Regions from separate parts of the Homo sapiens genome. Here region 2 is linked to region 1. Evidence: promoter capture Hi-C in 16 types of primary human blood cells and fetal thymus (Javierre and others, 2016). All regions are on one chromosome and are shown on one strand. The core of a region is centred on a gene start or on the middle of the fragment in contact, and the rest is flanking DNA. Distances in the headings are between cores, read along the strand shown.

The links. The method cuts DNA at HindIII sites, captures the fragments that hold promoters and counts their contacts. A CHiCAGO score of 5 or more calls a contact.
Region 2: a contact is called between the fragment with the promoter of IL2RG here and a fragment that was not itself captured in region 1, in 7 of 17 cell types (total B cells, naive CD4 T cells, non-activated CD4 T cells and 4 more). The highest score is 10.7, in total B cells.

What each region holds. Positions count from the first base shown.
Region 1 is chrX:71,294,023-71,297,511 of GRCh38, reverse strand. NONO (non-POU domain containing octamer binding) reads right to left here. Exons shown (of 12, transcript NM_007363.5): 5 at 2,984-3,285; 6 at 852-947; 7 at 465-661; 8 at 51-135. Among named protein-coding and RNA genes, the nearest start is that of ITGB1BP2, 6.0 kb to the left of the region's middle. The HindIII fragment of the contact is 894 bases long and covers 804-1,697 here.
Region 2 is chrX:71,110,327-71,113,492 of GRCh38, reverse strand. It overlaps IL2RG (interleukin 2 receptor subunit gamma), which reads left to right and starts at 1,916. Exons shown (of 8, transcript NM_000206.3): 1 at 1,916-2,068; 2 at 2,443-2,596; 3 at 2,805-2,989. The coding sequence starts at 1,954. RefSeq lists enhancers at 1,764-2,153, 1,256-2,455. The HindIII fragment of the contact is 3,788 bases long and covers 1,319-3,166 here.

The sequences.
Region 1 (3,489 bases), core at 1-2,500:
AGACATTACCTTTTAGAGTTGTTAGGGAAAAAGTGTTCGAGAAAAGTTACCTGAGCTCCAGTTGCTTTCGTTTTTGCACCTCTTGGTTGTGCAGCTCTTCCATCCTCCGAAGTTCTTCTTGGCGCCTCATCAAATCTAAAAAAACAACAGACTAAGAATATTCCTCATTGTCTTCATATAGATCTAATGACTTTCTTCAAATAAAGATCCAGAAAGCAAAGAGGATCTAATTCCTTTGGAACCACCTGTGGTGTCCAGATTCCAAAATGAAGTTATACCTATCATTTCCTTCTCCACAGAATCCAGTATCTCTGCCACATCTCCAAGCCTATTTATCTACCAAAATCAACGCAAACTAAGTATAAAAGCAGAGATGTAGGCCCTTCTGTTAATTGATACAAAGAAACCCATTTAAAAATGTCATTTTGTCCTTTCAGCTTTAAGACTTACAGGCCTAGACTCACCCTGTCTCATTAGCATGACCTGGTGCTCATGGCGTGCAGCTTCCATCTCCATCTCCAGCTTCTCACGAGCCTCCTTGATGTTGCGGTCCACTTGGTCCTGCTGCTGCTTCTCCATCTCAATGAGTGCCTTCCAGCGCATGGCATATTCATACTCAAAGGAGCCAGGCTGTGCAAATCTGGGTGGCTGCTCTCGTTCCCTATAGGCAAGGTTCCTAGGTTACTAACTTTGTCCAGAATTACCCCAGCTAAGAATTGCATTCCTTGTGAGGACCAAGATAATGGCTGCCAGTGAACATGTGCAGCAAAGACCTGCCTCTTTTACATATCCCTTTATAAGCTTTCTTAAGAAGGAAACACCTAATAGGGAAATCTATCAAGACTGCATACTTGTGAAATTGCTGGTTTTTTATAACCAGCTTCTCTGGAAGTCCCTCTTCATCATCTAACTGGTCCATGGGCTCCACAGTCACAGGACGAGGAAATCTGGAAGAAAGAACAAAGTTCAGTGTTAATCAAATCATACCCCACCAGGCTTCTTCTCTACACATGTCACTGGCACAATGAATTAGCTAGGGCTCAGGATTGGAGGCTTCTGAAGTTTTTATACCTAATGACATTATAAAAAATTTGGGGTTGGGCTGGGGGTGGTGGCTCACGCCTGTAATCCCAGCACTTTGGGAGGACGAGGCGGGTGAATCATGAGGTCAGGAGTTCAAGACAAGCCTGGCCAACATGGTGAAACCCTGACTCTACGGACGTCTGTAATCCCAGCTACTTGGGAGGCTGAGGCAGGAGAATCACTTGGACCCGGGAGACAGAGGTTGAAATGAGCCGAGATTGTGCCACTGCACCACTCTAGCCCGGGCTACAGAGTGAGACTGTCTCAAAAAAAAAAAAAAAAAGAAAAGAAAAAGAAAAAAGAAAATCTGGGGTTGACAGGACGAAATCAGGACTTAGATCTCTGAATACAGTCTCAAAAAGATATTCCAAGTAGGTAGGTGCAGTACTTAAGTACAGCCTAAACATCTACAGACACTCTGAGAAATGACTTGTGGTAAACACTAAGAGATACTGCAGGCACAAATCAACTTTTCAGAACTCTAAATCTTCAAAGTAAAGAGAGACTTAACACTGACTACATGACAACCTACCGAATGACTAAAAAGTTATTTTTCATAATCGTCATCCCACGTCTATTAATATAAGATTACAGAAAAATCATACGAGAAAGCTTAGTACCAAAAGTCTTTTTTTTTGGAAACGGAGTCTTCCTCTGTCGCCCAGGCTAGAGTGCAGTGGTGCAATGTCGGCTCACTGCAACCTCTGCCTCCCGGGTTCAAGTGATTCTCCTGCCTCAGCCTCCCGAGTAGCTGGGATCACAGGCGCCCACCACCGCGTCCAGCTACTTTTTGTATTTTTAGTAGAGACGGGGTTTCACCACCTTGGCCAGGCTGGTCTCAAACTCAGGACCTCGTGATTCACCCGCCTCAGCCTCCTGAAGTGTTGGTATTACAGGCATGAGCCACCATGCCCAGGCTAATACCAAAAGTCTTTTTTTTTGGAGACGGAGTCTTGTTCTCTTGCCCAGGCTGGAGTGCAGTGGCGCAATCTCGGCTCACTGCAAGCTCCACCTCCCAGGTTCACGCCATTCTCCTGCCTCAGCCTCCAGAGTAGCTGGGACAACAGGCGCCCGCCACCACACCCGGCTAATTTGTTGTATTTTTTAGTAGAGACGGGGTTTCACCGTGTTAGCCAGGATGGTCTCGATCTCCTGACCTGGTGATCTGTCCCGCCTGGGCCAAAAGTCTTTTTTTTTTTTTTTTTTTTGAGACAGAGTCTTGCTCTATCGCCAGGCTGGAGTGCAATGGCACAATCTCGGCTCACTGCAACCTCTGCCTTCCAGGTTCAAGTGATTCTCCTGCCTCAGCCTCCCAAGTTGCTGGGACTACATGTGCGCTAATTTTGGTATTTTTATTTTATTTATTTGTATTTTTAGTAGAGACGGGCTTTCAGCATGTTGGCCAGGATGGTCTTGATCTCCTCAACTCATGATCTGCCCGCCTCGGCCTCCCAAATTGCTGGGATTACAGGCGTGAGCCGCTGTTTTGCCCAGTCTTTTATTTATTTTTTTGAGGCAGTTTCACTCTGTTGCCCAGGCTGGAGTGCAGTGGCGTGATCTCAGCTCGCTGCAACCTCTGCCTCCTGGGTTCAAGCGATTCTCCTGCCTCAGCCTCCCAAGTAGCTGGGAATACAGGCACACGCCACCATGTTTGGCTAATTTTTTGTATTTTTAGTAGAGACAGGGTTTCACCATGTTGGTCAGGCTGGTCTCCAACTCCTGACCTCAGGTGATCCGCCTGCCCCGGCCTCCCAAAGTGCTGGGATTACAGGAGTCAGCCACCATGCCAGGCTGACCAAAAGTCTTTAAACATAGAAAAGTGGTTACTAGAGGCTAACTCTCCAGACCATGGAAGGAATTAGCAATCTAAGGTCTACGTCTGAAAATGACCCTCACTTACGTGGTTAGCAGGAAGGAGCCTTCACTGCATCTGTCCAGAGCTTTCCGAGCAGCTGGCTTCCCTGAGAACTCAACAATGCCTTTTCCTGAGGGCCTTCCTCGATCATCCACAATGACTACAGCCCTCTCTACCTGGCCAAACACAGAAAAGGCTTCTTCCAGCAGTTCGTTGGACACATACTGAGGAAGGTTTCGAACTGTAAGGGATGCACTATGGCAGGCAAAGCGCACACGCAGCTGCTTTCCACGGAGTGGCATATTGTCCAGCTCCACTTTGGCAATCTCCGCTAGGGTTCGGGTTTCCTAGGAAGCAGAGGAAAATCAGAATAACTCAGTTTGACAAAGAACACCTTAGCAGCCATCAACAGTCTAAAGCAGTATAGTTCAATATCTCCCCGGAAAAACTAAACAACCATACAAAGAAACAGAAGTGAAAGAACTTAACTGTGTGCTTCAGCTCTTTGGCCACCCTAGTTTGCTTCTGATGGCCTTGCAATAAATCACATG
Region 2 (3,166 bases), core at 667-3,166, 180 kb after region 1:
CAAGGATCGACGGCAGCCACCAGAAGCTAGAAGAGAGGCATGGAACAACTTCTTCCTCAGCGCCTCCAGAAGGGACCAACCCTGGCCACACTGATTTCGGACTTCTGGGCTCCAGAACTGTGAGAAAATAAATGCCTTTTTTTCCTTTTTAAAAAATTTTTATTTATTTATTTATTTATTTATTTGAGATGGAGTCTCACTCTGTTGCACAGGCTAGAGTGCAGTGGCGCAATTTTGGCTCACTGCAACCTCTGCCTCCTAGATTCAAGCGATTCTCATGTTTCAGCCTCCCGAGTAGCTGGGATTACAGGTGTTGCCACCATGTCTGGCTAATTTTTGTATTTTTAGTAGAGACGGGGTTTCACCAGGTTGGCCAGGCTGGTCTCGAACTCCTCAAGCAATCCACCTGCCTTGGCCTCCCAAAGTGCTGGGATTGCAGGCGTGAGTCACTGCACCCAGCCGAGAGAATAAATTTCTGTTGGTTTAAGCCACTCAGTTTGGGGATAACTTATGGCAGCCCTAGCAAACTAATACATACTAAAGATACATACTAAATACTAAGCTGGGCCATATAGTCCAGTTTTCCTGAGACTCCCAGGCAAGTGCTGTTTTTCTTTGCTTAATATCCTACACCACTTTCTGTCTGGTAAAATTACACTCATTCTTTAAGATGCCACTGAAATAGCACCTCTTCAGCACAGCCTTCACTAAACTATCCCCCTCTCCATCTTGGTAAATTTAGTTACTTCCTCTTCTGTGCTCACATACTTTGTAGTATCTCTACATTTATGCTATAGGACTTGTTACACTATGTTGTATTACTTGTTTATGTCTTCCCCACTTTTCTGTGAGTGTCTAGAAATATGAGGATGTCTTGTTGGTCTATTTCCAGAACATAAGCACAGTGCCTGGCACATATTAAAAACGTAATAAATGTTTGCTGAATAAATAGTTTCTGTAAGTGGCTTCTCCAATCACCTCTGTGTTTTCGGGGAAGGTAAAACTGGCAACAGGATGAAGAATGGATTAGAGAGCAGAGGGCCTTTAGAAAGGGAGGCCAGTTGATGGAGTCTAGATAGAATCATGACTAGAGCTAATGAAAGACTGATTTAGCAGAGTGGCTGTGGTAATGGAAAGGAGGAAACCGTTGGGAGAAACACCACAGAAGCAGAGTGGGTTATATTCTCTGGGTGAGAGAGGGGGAGAAATTGAAGCTGATTCTGAGGTTTCAAGTCTGGGTGACTGAGAGGGTGACGATACCATTGACTGAGGTGGGGAAGGCAGGAAGAGAAGCAGAGTTGGGGGAAGATGGGAAGCTTGAAGCTAGTATTGTTGTTCCTCCATTTCTAGAATATTTTTGTATTATAAGTCACACTTCCTCGCCAGTCTCAACAGGGACCCAGCTCAGGCAGCAGCTAAGGGTGGGTATTCTGGTTTGGATTAGATCAGAGGAAAGACAGCTGTATATGTGCCCACAGGAGCCAAGACGGTATTTTCCATCCTCCCAAAACAGTAGAGCTTTGACAGAGATTTAAGGGTGACCAAGTCAAGGAAGAGGCATGGCATAGAACGGTGATGTCGGGGGTGGGGGTTCAGAACTTCCATTATAGAAGGTAATGATTTAGAGGAGAAGGTGGTTGAGAATGGTGCTAGTGGTAGTGAACAGATCCTTCCCAGGATCTAGGTGGGCTGAGGATTTTTGAGTCTGTGACACTATTGTATATCCAGCTTTAGTTTCTGTTTACCACCTTACAGCAGCACCTAATCTCCTAGAGGACTTAGCCCGTGTCACACAGCACATATTTGCCACACCCTCTGTAAAGCCCTGGTTTATAAGGTTCTTTCCACCGGAAGCTATGACAGAGGAAACGTGTGGGTGGGGAGGGGTAGTGGGTGAGGGACCCAGGTTCCTGACACAGACAGACTACACCCAGGGAATGAAGAGCAAGCGCCATGTTGAAGCCATCATTACCATTCACATCCCTCTTATTCCTGCAGCTGCCCCTGCTGGGAGTGGGGCTGAACACGACAATTCTGACGCCCAATGGGAATGAAGACACCACAGCTGGTGGGAAATCTGGGACTGGAGGGGGCTGGTGAGAAGGGTGGCTGTGGGAAGGGGCCGTACAGAGATCTGGTGCCTGCCACTGGCCATTACAATCATGTGGGCAGAATTGAAAAGTGGAGTGGGAAGGGCAAGGGGGAGGGTTCCCTGCCTCACGCTACTTCTTCTTTCTTTCTTGTTTGTTTGTTTCTTTCTTTCTTTTGAGGCAGGGTCTCACTATGTTGCCTAGGCTGGTCTCAAACTCCTGGCCTCTAGTGATCCTCCTGCCTCAGCCTTTCAAAGCACCAGGATTACAGACATGAGCCACCGTGCTTGGCCTCCTCCTTCTGACCATCATTTCTCTTTCCCTCCCTGCCTTCATTTTCTCCCCAATCTAGATTTCTTCCTGACCACTATGCCCACTGACTCCCTCAGTGTTTCCACTCTGCCCCTCCCAGAGGTTCAGTGTTTTGTGTTCAATGTCGAGTACATGAATTGCACTTGGAACAGCAGCTCTGAGCCCCAGCCTACCAACCTCACTCTGCATTATTGGTATGAGAAGGGACGAGGGGGAGGGGATGAAGAAGAGGTGGGTTGGATCAGAGACCAAGAGAGAGGGTAGCAAGTCTCCCAGGTACCCCACTGTTTTCTCCTGGGGTAAGTCATAAGTCGGTTGAGGGGAGATGAGGCTAGGCTCTGGATATCTGCAGTACCCAGATTGGCCCCACTGTTCCTCTTCCTTCCAACCTTTCTCCTCTAGGTACAAGAACTCGGATAATGATAAAGTCCAGAAGTGCAGCCACTATCTATTCTCTGAAGAAATCACTTCTGGCTGTCAGTTGCAAAAAAAGGAGATCCACCTCTACCAAACATTTGTTGTTCAGCTCCAGGACCCACGGGAACCCAGGAGACAGGCCACACAGATGCTAAAACTGCAGAATCTGGGTAATTTGGAAAGAAAGGGTCAAGAGACCAGGGATACTGTGGGACATTGGAGTCTACAGAGTAGTGTTCTTTTATCATAAGGGTACATGGGCAGAAAAGAGGAGGTAGGGGATCATGATGGGAAGGGAGGAGGTATTAGGGGCACTACCTTCAGGATCCTGACTTGTCTAGGCCAGG